5 separate regions of the Homo sapiens genome follow, and regions 1, 3, 4 and 5 are each linked to region 2. Evidence: promoter capture Hi-C in human tissues and cell types (Jung and others, 2019). All regions are on one chromosome and are shown on one strand. Each heading gives the region's core, a stretch centred on a gene start or on the middle of the fragment in contact. The rest is flanking DNA. Distances are from core to core; before and after follow the strand shown.

What was found. Contacts are between HindIII fragments. The study calls those that stand out against the background at their distance.
Region 1: a fragment that was not itself captured here is called in contact with the fragment with the promoter of ELP6 in region 2 in 3 of the 25 tissues and cell types used here (H1 embryonic stem cells, hippocampus and mesendoderm cells).
Region 3: a contact is called between a fragment that was not itself captured here and the fragment with the promoter of ELP6 in region 2, in 3 of the 25 tissues and cell types used here (bladder, hippocampus and spleen).
Region 4: a fragment that was not itself captured here is called in contact with the fragment with the promoter of ELP6 in region 2 in 1 of the 25 tissues and cell types used here (IMR-90 fibroblasts).
Region 5: a contact is called between a fragment that was not itself captured here and the fragment with the promoter of ELP6 in region 2, in 1 of the 25 tissues and cell types used here (adrenal gland).

What each region holds. Positions count from the first base shown.
Region 1 is chr3:47,744,973-47,747,672 of GRCh38, forward strand. SMARCC1 (SWI/SNF related BAF chromatin remodeling complex subunit C1) reads right to left here. Exons shown (of 28, transcript NM_003074.4): 3 at 936-1,021. Among named protein-coding and RNA genes, the nearest start is that of SMARCC1, 36 kb to the right of the region's middle. The HindIII fragment of the contact is 9,491 bases long and covers 1-2,700 here.
Region 2 is chr3:47,512,415-47,515,123 of GRCh38, forward strand. ELP6 (elongator acetyltransferase complex subunit 6) reads right to left here and starts at 1,298. Exons shown (of 7, transcript NM_001031703.3): 1 at 1,123-1,298. The coding sequence starts at 1,176. RefSeq lists enhancers at 713-822, 1,153-1,262. The HindIII fragment of the contact is 13,702 bases long and covers 1-2,709 here.
Region 3 is chr3:47,694,983-47,697,702 of GRCh38, forward strand. All of the region lies in intron 11 of SMARCC1 (SWI/SNF related BAF chromatin remodeling complex subunit C1), which reads right to left. Among named protein-coding and RNA genes, the nearest start is that of HIGD2AP2, 34 kb to the left of the region's middle. The HindIII fragment of the contact is 4,536 bases long and covers 1-2,720 here.
Region 4 is chr3:47,665,321-47,668,178 of GRCh38, forward strand. All of the region lies in intron 19 of SMARCC1 (SWI/SNF related BAF chromatin remodeling complex subunit C1), which reads right to left. Among named protein-coding and RNA genes, the nearest start is that of HIGD2AP2, 4.0 kb to the left of the region's middle. The HindIII fragment of the contact is 6,014 bases long and covers 1-2,858 here.
Region 5 is chr3:47,726,403-47,729,265 of GRCh38, forward strand. It overlaps SMARCC1 (SWI/SNF related BAF chromatin remodeling complex subunit C1), which reads right to left. Exons shown (of 28, transcript NM_003074.4): 6 at 2,623-2,692. Among named protein-coding and RNA genes, the nearest start is that of SMARCC1, 54 kb to the right of the region's middle. The HindIII fragment of the contact is 5,354 bases long and covers 1-2,863 here.

The sequences.
Region 1 (2,700 bases), core at 144-2,643, 230 kb after region 2:
AAAACTGCTATCTGGCCAGGCACGGTGGCTCACACCTGTAATCCTAGCACCTTGGAAGGTCAAGGCAGGTAGATCGCCTGAGGTCAGGAGTTCGAGACCAGCCTGGCCAACATGGTGAAACCCCATCTCTACTAAAAATGCAAAAATTAGCTGGGCATGTGGTGGCAGGTGCCTGTAATCCCAGTTACTCAGGAGGCTGAGGCAGGAGAATCACTGGAAGGTTGCAGTGAGCTGAGATGGTGCCACTTCACTCCAGCCTGGGCGAAAAAGCGCAACTAAGTCTCAAAAAAACAAAACAAACAAACAAAAATACTATCTATCCACTTCAAATATAATGTATGAGTTCATTATACACACACATTTCATGGCAAGCCTACCTTCTAATTTGCTAACAATGTACACCTGTTACTATAAAAATCAAATATAAGAAATCACTTCCCTAATAAATACTTGGTTGTGGCCGGGTGCGGTGGCTCACGCCTGTAATCCCAGCACTTTGGGAGGCTGAGATGGGTGGAGTGCTTGAGGCCAGGAGTTTGAGAGCAGCCTGACCAACATGACAAAACCCTATTTCTACTAAAAATAGAAAAATTAGCCAGGCATGGTGGTGCACGCCTACAGTCCCAGCTACTCAGGAGGCTGGGGCATGAGAATTGCTTGAATCTGATGCGCGGGATGCAGTGACCTGAGATTCCACCACTGCACTTCTAGCCTTGCCAACAGCCTTGGTTGGTCCTATTTTTAAGACCCTGTCTCAAAAATAAATAAATACGTGGTTGCTTGATATTTTTCTTGGATGTAGAAACAAGGTAAATTAGGGCTCTTGGTAAAACACATTAATCATCATGTGCTTACAGGATTTTCTAACACAAGGAAACAGGACTTAAAAGTAAATAACTTAAGATCAAAACATGCAAACAAATACAAAAACTTACCATCCCTGTTCATTTTTATACTTGTAAGCAGCCCCAAGAATGTGACATAAGGCGCCTCCAGCTTTGAAATCCATGAAACACTTTGCCTAAAAATGATACAAATTACACATGAGAAAAATAAAGCTTCTGACAAAATTACTCATGTCTTAATTCTAAGTTTTATAAATTCAAATATATAAACAAATACTAATTAAACAACCTCCTTAAACATCTTCTTGAATAAACTGAGGAATCAATACATTTTTCTAAAAGTAGATTAGGCTGGGCATGGTGGCTCATGCCTGTAATCCCAACACTCTGGGAGCGTGAAACAGGAGGATCACTTAAGCCCAGGAGTTCAAGACCAGTCTGGGCAACACAGGGAGATCCAGTCTCTAGAAAAAAATTTAAAAATTAGCTGTGCATTGTGGCACACACCTGCAATCCTATCCAGGAGGCTGGGGTGGGAGGATCACTTCAGCCTGAGAGGTTGAGCCTGCGGTGAGCCCTGATCGCCCTACTGCACTCCAGCCCTGGATGACAGAGTGAGATGCTGTCTCAAGAAAAATCAAATGAAATAAACTGAAGTGAAACTACTTTCTTGTAGCCAGTACAGTGGCTCACACCTATAGTCGCAGCTACTTGGGAGGCTGAGATGAAAGAATCACTTGAGCACAGAAATTCAAAACCAGCCTGGACAATATAGCAAGACCCCATACCCCTCCCCAAAAGAATTCCTTTTAAATTCCATAAACATATTATAATTTGAGTAATTAGTCTGTCAAAAGAAAGATTTTAAAAAGCTAAATATAGGCCAGGAGCAGTGGCTCACATCAGTAATTTTTTTTTTTTTTTTTTTTTGAGATAGAATTTTGCTTTTGTTGCCCAGGCTGGAGTGCAATGGTGCTATCTCGGCTCACTGCAACCTACGCCTCCCAGGTTCAAGTGATTCTCCTGCCTCAGCCTCCTAAGTAGCTGGGATTATAGGCATGCATGACCACGCCCGGCTAATTTTGCATTTTTAGTAGAGACAGGGTTTCTCTATGTTGGCCAGGCTGGTCTCGAACTCCCAACCTCAGGTGATCTGCCCGCCTCAACCTCCCAAAGTGCTGTGATTACAGGCATGAGCCATCGTGCCTGGCTACACACCAGTAATTCTAACATTTTGAGACACCAAGGTGAAAGAATCACTTGAGGCCAGGAGTCTGAGACCAGCTTGGGCAACACAGTGAGATCCTACCTCTACAAAAAATTTAAAAATTAGGCCAGGTGCAGGAGTGGCTCACACCTGTAATCCCAGCATTTGGCAGGCCGAAGCGGGCAGATGGCTTGAGCACAGGAGTTCAAGACCAGCCTGGGCAACATGGTGAAACCCCGTCTCAACAAAAAATGCAAAAGAAATTAGCCAGGCATGGGGGGAGTGTGCCTGTAGCCCCAGCTACTGGGAGGCTGAGGTAGGAGGATGGCTTGAACCTAGGAGGCAAAGGTTGCAGTGAGCTGAGACCATGCCACTATACTCTAGCCTGGGCAATAAAACCAGAATTTGTCTCAAAAAAATATAAATATAAATATAAATATAAATATAAATATAAATATAAAAATTAGCCAGGCATGGTGGCACACGCCTGTAGTCCCACCTACTCAGGAGGCTGAGGTAGGAGGATTGCATGAGCATGGGAAGTCAAGCTGTAGTGAACTGTGATGGTGACAAATCCAGCCTGGGTGACAGAGTGTGACCTTATCTCAAAAAACAAATTTTTTTATAAAAAAGATAAATCAAAATGGT
Region 2 (2,709 bases), core at 48-2,547:
GGTAGCGCACGCCTGCAATCCCAGCTACTTGGGAGGCTGAATAAGGAGAATCACTTGAACCCGGGAGGTGAGGTTGCAGGGAGCCGAGATCGCGCCAGTGCACTCCAGCCCAGGCGAGGGAGCGAGACTCCATCAAAAATAAATAAATAAATAAATAAGCCAAAAGATACACTCCTGAAAGAGGTTACTCCTACGTTAAAATGTGAAAGGTTTCAAGGTACCCCGGAGTGTGAGGAGGGTGGAGAGAACAGGCCAGCCTGGGGTGCCCAAGACGGACTTGGTCCAAGCCAATTTGGCTCTGTCCTGCTTCTAACAGTTCTATTAGAGATCACAAGGAGGAAGAGTAAGAAGAACAGCAGCGTTCAATACAATGTGCCAATTGCTCCGGGGCGAGGTGGCGGTTAGGAAGCTCGCCCATGAAGACGGCGGCGAAACGAACTCCCCTCTCCTCTCGGGCCTATTCTGCAGTCTCCTCTGAGCGCCTGGGACCCCCCACCCCAGTGAACATGCACAGCGCGCCACAGTTCACGTCCGCGAATATAACCCAACCCCACTGTCGGCCATGCTTCCCAGGTACTTTTTTTTTTTTTTTTTGAGGTGGAGTCCCGCTCTGTCGCCCAGGCTGGAGTGCGGTGGCGAGATCTCGGGTCACTGCAACCTCCGCCTCCCGGGTTCAAGCAATTCTCCTGTCTCAGCCTCCCGAGTAGCTGAGATTACAGGCATGAGCCACCACGCCCGGCTAATTTTTGTATTTTTCGTAGAGACGGGGGTTTCACCATCTTGGCCAGACTTGTCTCGAACTCTTGACCTTAGATGATGCACCCGCCTCGGCCTCCCAAACTGCTGGGATTACAGGGGTGAGCCACCGCGCCCGGCCGCTTCCCAGGGACTTTTAAGGACACGCACAGCCGTTGAGAATATGCGAGATGGCCCAGAAGCCCACTTTCGGCGGGCCCAAGCCTCCAGTCCAATCCCCGGGTCGATCCTCTGCGGACTACAACTCCCAGGTACCCCGTGCCGGGTCGTCGCGCCATTCCCCGGGGTCGTGCGCACCGCCTCCCGGATGCAGTATTCCGCTGCCCTGCCAGGTCCCGCCCCCTTCCGGCCAGCGGGACCTCTTACCTGCTCCGCCCTGTCGGGGGTGGTGTTAAGCAGGTTATTAAGTTCCACGAACATTCCGAGCTCCTGGGACTAGCGCTCTGGAGGAGAACCCGGAGTGCTGCAGAGACGACGGAGGCTGGAGAGCAAAACACACCCGACAGCCCGGCTCGCGCAAGGAAGCGCGCATGCGCAATGCCACTTTTGCGAGCCAGCCACAGCCAATGAGGCGGGTGCCTCGATGGGACCGCTGCGCACGCGCGTAGACGTCCGTCGAGTCCCAGGTGGTAGGAAACGATGGGCTTCTCTGTGCGACTGCCAGCGGCCTCTGGCGGCTCATTCCGCGCAGATCTGCGTGGCGCCCGAGCCCTCCCAGTGGGCCCCCAAGGCTCCACGCGACCGAGTATTCTTCTTCCCTTGGCCTCGCTCTCTGCCCAGCCCCGGGCTCCTTTTCTCCACACGTGGCTGTCAAGCGCCTTCTGTATGCCCCACACTCCTGGGAGCTTGGGCTACATCGATGAACAAAAACAAAGGACAGGGAATTTATTATTATTATTATTATTATTATTATTATTATTATTATTTAATTGAGACGGAGTCTTGCCCTGTCGCCCAGGCTGGAGTGCAGTGGCGCGATCTCGGCTCACTACAGTCTCCGCCTCCTGGGTTCACGCCATTCTCCTGCCTCAGCCTCCCGAGTGTAGCTGGGACTACAGGCGCCCGCCACCACGCCCGGCTAATTTTTTGTATTTTTAGTAGAGACGGGGTTTCACCGTGTTAGCCAGGATGGTCTTGATCTCCCGACCTCGTGATCCGCCGGCCTCGGCCTCCCAAAGTGCTGGGATTACAGGCATGAGCCACCACGCCCGGCCGACACGGAATTATATCTTGAAAAGTTGTGTGGAGAAAAGCAAAGTGGGATTAGAGAGTACCAATGGGGGCAGGGGTAGGTTCCAGAATTAAAGAGGTTGTCAGGGTGGGTCTCACTAAGAAAGTGTGGTTGCGGCTGGGCGCGGTGGCTCACACCTGTAATGCCAGCACTTTGGGAGGCCTAGACGGAGGGATCACGAGGTCAGGAGTTCGAGACTAGCCTGGCCAATATAGTGAAACCCCCTTCTCTATTAAAAATACAAAAAATTAGCCTGGCGTGGTGGGGGGCGCCTGTCATCCCAGCCACTCGGGAGGCTGAGCCAGTAGAATCGCTTGAACCTGGGAGGCAGAGGTTGCAGTAAGCCGAGATCACGCCATTGCTCTCTAGCCTGGGCAGCAGTGTGAGACTTCGTTAAAAAACAGTGTGGTTGCAACACGCCCTGTATGCCTGTCCTCAGAGCCTTTATACTAACTCTTCCCTCTTCCTGGAATGCCCCTTTTCCCAGATATTAAGCTGATTTTAAAATTCCCCACTTCCTTCAGGTCTCTGCTCCGATGTCACTTTATTCGTGAGGCCTTCCCTGAGCACCTTACTTAAATCACAAACTGTCCCTTTCCCAACACTTCTTTTTCCTTGCTTTTATTTTTTTCCATAACATTTATATCTATTATACCGTATATAGTTTTGTTCTAGCCCAATCAGCCTCAGATCAGTGGACAAACCTGTAATTCCACCAAAGT
Region 3 (2,720 bases), core at 192-2,691, 180 kb after region 2:
TTCTTACATTTTAACCTCAATTATGTAACAGTGATTCTAAACATATTTGATGAGCTAAACACATAGTAACGGGAAAAAATGTGTGCTCACAAAATTCGTATGTTGAAACCCAACTGTAGTGTCCTGGTATTTAGAAGTAAGGCCTTTGGAAAATAATTAAGTCAGGAGGATAGGCCCCTCAAGAACAGGATTAATGCCCTTATAACTGGGTGTAGTGGCTCATGCCTGTAAGTCCTAGCTACCAGGGATGCTGAGGCACAAGAAACGCTTGAGCCTAGGAGGTGAAGTCTGCAGTGAGTTATGATCGCATAGCTGTTATTCCAGTCTGGGTGACAATGCAAGTATGTACTTTACAATAATTAATTTAATGTTATGTGAAGTATATCTCAATTAAAACAATGCTATATTATGCATAAAATCATACACTGGAAAACTGAATGCCTGTTTTCTACTTCACCCTCAGCATCTGTCCCTGTAGTGGTTGAATAAAAGTTACTTTGTCATCCGGGCGCGGTGGCTCATGCTTGTAATCGCAGAACTTTGGAAGGACAAGGCAGGCAGATCACCTAAGGTCAGGAGTTCAAGACCAGCCTGGCCAACGTGGTGAAACCCTGTCTCTACTAAAAATACAAAAATTAGTAGGGCATGGTGGAAGGCACCTGTAATCCCAGCTACTAGGGAGGCTGAAGCAGAAGAATCACACGAACCCGGCGGAGGTTGCAGTGAGCAGAGATCATGCCAATGCACTCCAGCCTGGGCAACAGAGCAAGATTCTGTCTCAAAAAAAAAAAAAAAAAAAAAGTTGGACGCAGTGTGGCTCACGCCTGTAATCCCAGCACTTTAGGCAGCTGAGGTGGGCAGATCACCTGAGGTCAGGAGTTCAAGACCTGCCTGGCCAAGGTGAAACCCCGTCTCTACTAAAAATACAAAAAAAATCAGCCGGGCGTGGTGGTGCATGCCTGTAATCCCAGCTACTCGGGAGGCTGAGGCATGAGAATCACTTGAACTCAAGAGGCGGAGGTTGCAGTGAGCCGAGATTATGCCACGGCACTCCAGCCTGGGTGACTGAGCAAGACGCTGTCTCAAAAAAAAAAAGGGGGGGGGGGGGCCAGGCGAGGTGGCTCATGCCTGTAATCCTAGCACTTTGGGAGGCCAAGGCGGGTGGATCACCTGAGATCAGAAGTTCGGGACCAGCCTGGCCAATATGGCAAAACCCCATCTCTACTAAAAATACAAAAAAAATTAGCCAGGCGTGGTGGCGGGCGCCTATAATCTCAGCTACTCAGGAGGCTGAGGCAGGACAATCACTAGAATCCTGGGGGCTGAGGTTGCAGTGAGCTGAGATTGCACCACTGCACTCCAACCTCGGCAACAGAGCGAGACTCTGTCTCAGAAACAAAACAAAACAAAAAAACAAAACACAAACAAATTTATACAACACTAGACTCAAAAACGGCACAACATATGTCCTTTTCAAGTAGTATAAGCAAAGGTTCACCAAAGTAGACTATATGCTGTGAAATAAAACAAGTGTGAATAATTTTTTTTTTTTTTTGAAACAGAGCTTCACTCATCGCCCAGGCTGGAATGCAACGGTGCAATCTCGGCTCACTGCAACCTCTGCCTCCCGAGTTCAAGTGATTCTCCTGCCTCAGCCTCCTGAGTAGCTGGGATTACAGGCACCCACCACCACACCCGGCTAATTTTTTTTTGTATTTTTAGTAGAGACAGGGTTTCTCCATGTTGTCCAGGCTGGTCTTGAACTCTTGACCTCAGGTGATCCACCCGCCTTGACCTCCCAAAGTGGTGGGATTACAGGCATGAGCCACCGCGCCCAGCCAAGTGTGAATAAATTTCGAAAGACTAGATTTTCAGTGAATGATTTTGGGTTTTTTTGAATCGGGGTCTCACTCCTTAGCCCAGGCTGCAGTGCAGTGATGCAATCATGGCTCACTGAAGCCTCAATGTCCTTGGTTTCCAGCAATCCTCTCACTGAATAGCTAGGACTACAGGGAAAGGCCACCATGTCCAGCTCTGCCATAGATTTTAATTAGGAATTAACTACAAAATAAGCCAGACATGGTAGCTTGCAATTTGGGAGGCTGAGGAGGGTAGATTGCTTGAGCTCAGGAGTTTGAGACCAGCTTGGGCGGTATGGCAAGACCGTGTCTCTACAATGAATAAAAATTAAGCAAATGTGGTGGTGAGCACCTGTATCCCAGCTGAAACGAGAGGCTGAGGTGGGAGTATCACTTGAGTGAGCAGCAAGACGTGACTGCCAATGCACTCCAGCCTGGGCGAAAGAGCGAGAGATCCTGACTTTTTTTTTTTTTTTTTAGATGGAGTCTGGCTCTGTCGCCCAGGCTGGAGTGCCCTGGCGTGATCGTGGCTCACTGCAACCTCCGCCTCCCGGGTTCAAGCGATTCTCTTGCCTCAGCCTCCCGAGTAGCCTGGGACTACAGGTATGCGCCACCACGCCAGGCTAATTTTTGTATTTTTAGTAGAGCTCTGGTTTCAACTTGTTGGCCAGGCTAGTCTTGAACTCCTGGCCTCAAGTGATCCTCCCGCCTCAGCCTACCCAAATGCTGGGATTACAGGTGTGAGCCACTGCACCTGGCCTTGACCCTGACTCTTAAGGGAAAAAAAAAAAAAAATTCCAAACTCATTTTATGAGGCCAGCATAACCATGACAGCAAAACCTGATGAGAAAATGCTAAGAA
Region 4 (2,858 bases), core at 270-2,769, 150 kb after region 2:
TTGAAAGATCCAGATTGTAAGAAAAAAGAAAAATAAATCTCACTCGGGTCCACGGAAGTAGAAATATATCTACTGGGGCTGTATTATGTTTCTAATTATAAATAGGGATTTTCTAGACATGCTCTATCATGCCCTTTTCCAATGAAATTTTTAATTAAAAAATATTTTTTCATGTTCCTTTCGCCAGGGAACAATAAGAAAGTTCATCAAGTTTTTTTCCAGAATAAAGGTGGAGTTGGGGAAACTTCTGAGATACAAAATCCAAGCAAGACTCAGCATCCAGAAGAGCACAGAGTTGAGAATCTGTAAATGTCTGAGCCTAGGAACTGATAATAATGCTAATAAGAGAGGCAAATTAAAGTGATGTTTTGAAAAGAGAATAATGCGGTGACACACTGGCCAGGAAGGAGGATGATTCAATGAAAGTTTTTAGTAAGTATCTTATAATGCTACAAAACAGCTTCATTCATCCTGCCATAACCCAGGTTCAGGTCTTCATCATTACTTAACCTGGATACACTCACTCACTCTCTTTTTTTTTTTTTTGTGAGACACGGTCTTGCTATGTTGCCCAAGCTGCTGTCCAATTCCTGGCCTCAAGCAATCCTTCCATCTCAGCCTCATAGATCGATTATTATAATTACCTTTCTATAGTAATTTCATCCTTCTCCACGCTGCTAGGGTGAAATATGTTTTACATAAAACACTCTTTCTCTCCTGCCTAAAACTATTTTATTATGTGTCATTATCTTATGAAATTAAGCCAAACATGATCAGGACACTGCCTACTTCTCCCGCCCTATTCCCTACTCTTCACGTTTCAACAATACACAGGCCCCACTGATCTATTCCTACTAGGTATTGTGCCTATGAACCATTTGTTCTGCACTGGAAACATCATGTTTTAGGACCAACACAGCTATACCATTCCCAGAAGCCTGTTCATTATGTCTTATCTACCTGGCTTGTTTGCAAAGCAACTCCTCTGTACAGCTCTTGTGCTCTGGACATACCTCTAATCATAAAGCTGGGAATTCCGCATTCAAGCTTTGTGTTTTATCTTTCTCTGTCACTTAAGCAGACTATGAATTCCTTAAAGGTACAGATTGTGTTCTACAGATCTCTACCTGCAGTGTCTGTCAGTGTCCAAAACACAATACCTAATAAAGTTTACTGAACTCAAACCACAGGAAACTGAACTAAACCAAGAAATAAATCTGACTTTGCTATGGCTCTCAAATGTAAAAAGGCAGACTGTTTTCCTAATTAAAAAAAAAAAAAAAAAAGGTTCTCTTAGCTAAACCAAGCTTGTCCAACCTGTGGCCTGCAGCCTACATGTGGCCCAGGATGGCGCTGAATGTGGCCCATACAAATTCATAAACTTTCTTAAAACACTATGATTTTTTGGGGGGATTTTTTTTTAAGCTCATCAGCTATTGTTAGTGTTAGTGTATTTTATGTGTGGCCCAATGTGGCCCAGGGAAGCCAAAGATTGGACATCTCTGTCCTTAAGAAAAGTTTTTTAATAGAAGATTTACTATGCATCTTAGTGTAGTTCAAAAGTACATAGAATGATATATTTCCTGGGTTTTGCATCAAGAAAAAGTATGTAAAGTGTATGCACACTGTGAGGAAATCTTTCATGTTGGTTACTGAATATCTTCTAATGCTATGTTTCCTATTATTTAGCTGGCATAAAAAATGAGAGAAACTCGGGCCAGGCACGGTGGCTCACGCCTGTAATCCCAGCACTTTGGGATGCTGAGGTGGGCCGATCACGAGGTCAGGAGATCGAGACCATCCTGGCTAACATGGTGAAACCTCGTCTCTACTAAAAACACAAAAAAATTAGCCGGGCATGGTGGCAGGCACCTGTAGTCCCAGCTACTTGGGAGGCCGAGGCAGGAGAATAGTGTGAACCCGGGAGGCGGAGCTTGCAGTGAGCCGAGATCACGCCACTGCACTCCAGCCTGGGCGACAGAGCGAGACTCCGTCTCAAAAAAAAAAAAAAAAGAGAGAGAGAGAAACTCTTACAGTGATAAATAAATGTTAATAAATTACAAGTTTTCTTTGCAGGCATAGCCTTTATGTCTATTAATTATCTAAGGGAAAATAAATAGCATGAGAAAGCAAAGCATACATGACAAACACTAGAGCTATCACGGGAGAATCAGTGAGCTCACAAATTCAAGTCTTGTCACTTTCAAGCCCAAGAATAATTATAAATGAACAGGAAGAATACTGCAATCAGTTGTGGACTTAAAAGAAATTGTGAAGGCCAAGCGCGGTGGCTTGTGCCTGTAATCCCAGCACTCTGGGAGGTTGAGGCGGGCAGATCACGAGGTCAAGAGATCGAGACCATCCTGGCCAACATGGTGAAACCCCGTGTCTTCTGAAAATACAAAAATTAGCTGGGCATGGTGGCGCGTGCCTGTAGTCCCAACTACTCGGGAGGCTGAGGCAGAAGAACTGCGTGAACCCAGGAGGCAGAGGTTGCAGTGAGCTGAGATCATGTCACTGCACTCCAGCCTGGTGACAGAGTGAGATTCCTTCTCAAAGAAAAAAGAAACTGTGAACCCAGTACAGTGGCTCACGTCTGTAATCTAAGTACTCTGGGAGGCTGAGGCAGGAGGATCACTAGAGACCAGGAGTTCAAGACCAGCATGGACAGCATAGCAAAACCCTGCCTCTATATTAAATAAATAAATATGTGCATATATATATAGATACGCATGTACATATATATTAACTTGAAAAAAAATTCTTTAGTCACTGTGGAATAGAGTGGCTCCATTATCTCTCTTTCATTCTGGTGCCCTGATTATATCAACAGAATTTCAAACTTCCATAAAGACTGT
Region 5 (2,863 bases), core at 183-2,682, 210 kb after region 2:
TATTTGGATTGCTTCATCATTATTATTGTTATTGCCAATGCTTTATTCTATTAATCAGTGTTTTGCTTGCTTTCTGTTAAGACGGTAAACATAAAATTTACCATTTTAACCATTTTATAAGTAAGCAGTTTAGTACTGTTAGGTACACCCAGTGTTGCATGTCCAATCTCCAGATCTCTCTGTACATTATGAAACTAAAACCCTACACCCAATGAACAGCAACTCCCTGATGGAGCATTAGCCAGGCTTAAAAAGGAAATTCTAGCACATGCTGTAACATGAATAAACTTTGAAGACATTACACTAAGCAAAACAAATTAATCATAAAAACACAAATTCTGTATGATTTCATCTAAGGTGGTCAAATTCTTAGTCTCTGATAACAACCATGTTATATTCAGTATCAATGAATTTCACTACTTTGGGTACTTCATAAAATTGGAATCATATGGTATTTCTCCATGTTATTAGCATGTGTTAAAATTTCCTTTTTTTTTCAAGGCTGAATAATATTCCACTGTGTGGGACCAGGAGTGGTGACTCACGCCTCTAATACCAGCACTTTGGGAGGCTGAGGCGTTTGGATCACTTGAGGTCAGGAGTTTGAGACAAGCCTGTCCAACATGGTGAAACCCTGTCTCTGCTAAAAATACAAAAAAAATTAGCTGGGTGTGGTGGTGCACTCCTGTAGTCCCAGCTACTCGGGAGGCTGAGGCAGGAGAATCGCTTGAACCCAGGAGGCGGAGGCTGCAGTGCGCCAAGATGACGCCACTACACTCCATTCTGGGTGACACAGCAAGACTCCACCTTAAAACAAAAAAACTGGCCGGGCACGGTGGCTAACGCCTATAATCCCAGCACTTTGGGAGGCCGAGGCAGGTGGATCATGAGGTCAGGAGTTCGAGACCAACCTGGCCAAGACGGTGAAACCCCATCTCTACTAAAAATACAAAAATTAGCTGGGCATGATGGTGGGCACCTGTAATCCCAGCTACTTAGGAGGCTGAGGCAGGAGAATCACTTGAACCCAGGAGGCGGAGGTTGCAGTGAGCCGAGATCACATGACTACACTCTAGCCTGGGTGACAGAACAAAGACTACATCTCAAAAAAAAAATTGTACTGTGTGTACATACCACAATTTGTTTATCCATTCACCTAATTATTTTAACCTGGGTTTTGGCCATTTTCCTCTTTTACCAATAGGTTGTTTTTTGTTTTTTTTTTTAGGTAAGACAGAGTTTTGCTCTTCTTGCCCGGGCTAGAGCGCAGTGGTGCAATCTCAGCTCACTGCAACCTCCACCTCCCAGGTTCAAGCGATTCTCCTGCCTCAGCCTCCCGAGTAGCTAGGATTACAGACACCTGCCACCACTCTTGGTTAAATTTCGCCATATTGGTGAGGCTGGTCTCAAACTCCTGACCTCAGGTGATCCACCCGCCTTGGCCTCCCAGAGTGCTGGGATTACAGGCCTGAGCCACAGCGCCAGGCCTTGTTTTTTAAGACATGAGATTTCACTATGTTGCCCAGGTTGGAGTGCAATGGCTACGCAAAGGCACAATTATCACATGCCACAGTCTCAAACTCCTGACCTCAAGTGATCCTCCCACCTCAGCCTCCAGAGGAGCTGGAATACAGGCACGTATCACCACACCCGGATTTAACCACCTTATTAGTCCCTTTTTTTTTTTTTTTTTTTTTTTTTTGAGATGGAGTCTCCTTCTGTCACCCAGGCTGGAGTGCAGTGGCAAGATCTTGACTCACTGCAACCTCCATATCCCAGGTTCAAGCGATTCTCCTGCCTCAGCCTCCCAAGTAGCTGGGGTTACAAATGGGTGCCAGCACAGCCGGCTAATTTTTGGTATTTTTAGTAGAGATGGGGTTTCACCATTTTGGTCAGGCTGATCTCAAACTCCTGACCTCAAGTGATCCACCCACCTCGGACTCCCAAACTGCTGGGATTACAGGCGTGAGACACCAGGTCCAGCCCTCATTAGTCTAAGAACCACCTGACATTGCTGAATATCTCACTAATGTGTACTTTCTACATCATTAATTTTTGCTTTTATTATTTCCTTTTTCGTTAGGTTTAATTTGGTGTTGTTTTTCTAATTTCTTGAGAAAGATGTTTGGACCACTGATTTCTAACCTTTCTCCTTTCCTAATATAAAGAAATAAATGTTCCTCTAGGCACAGCTTCTACTACATCTTTTAAAAGTTAATGTTGGCTGGGCGCAGTGGCTCACACCTGTAAACCCAGCACTTTGGGAGGCCAAGGTGGGCAGATCACGAGGTGAAGAGATTGAAACCACCATCCTGGCCAACATGGTGAAATTCTTGTCTCTACTAAAAATACAAATATTACAGCTGGGCATGGTGGTGGGCGCCTATATTCCCAGCTACTCAGGAGGCTGAGTCAGGAGAATCTCTTGAACCCGGGAGGTGGAGGTGGCAGTGAGCTGAGATCGCGCCACTGCACTCCAGCCTGGGCGACAGACTCCATCTTCAAAACAAAACAAAAACAAATAAAAAGCTGGTTATTCTGTTTAAGTCTTTGGGGGTATGACATAAAATCCATTTGGTATGATGTATGAGCTCATCTGTTCACAACGCAAAACTAACTTACCATCGTCTTGTGAGGAAGAATATGGGTAAATGTGGTGGGAAGCTTTTGACTTCTCATCCGTAAATGTTCCCTGGAAAGCAAATGAACAAAAACCACAAAAATAAAGCACATGGCAATGAACTATGAGATTCCAGATACAAATTCCATACAAATTCTAAAAGCATGGTTTTACTTATAGACTTTATATAAAAAAGACTTGCTTCTTTTTAGTCAAATAAAAAAAAGTGATTAACAACAATAA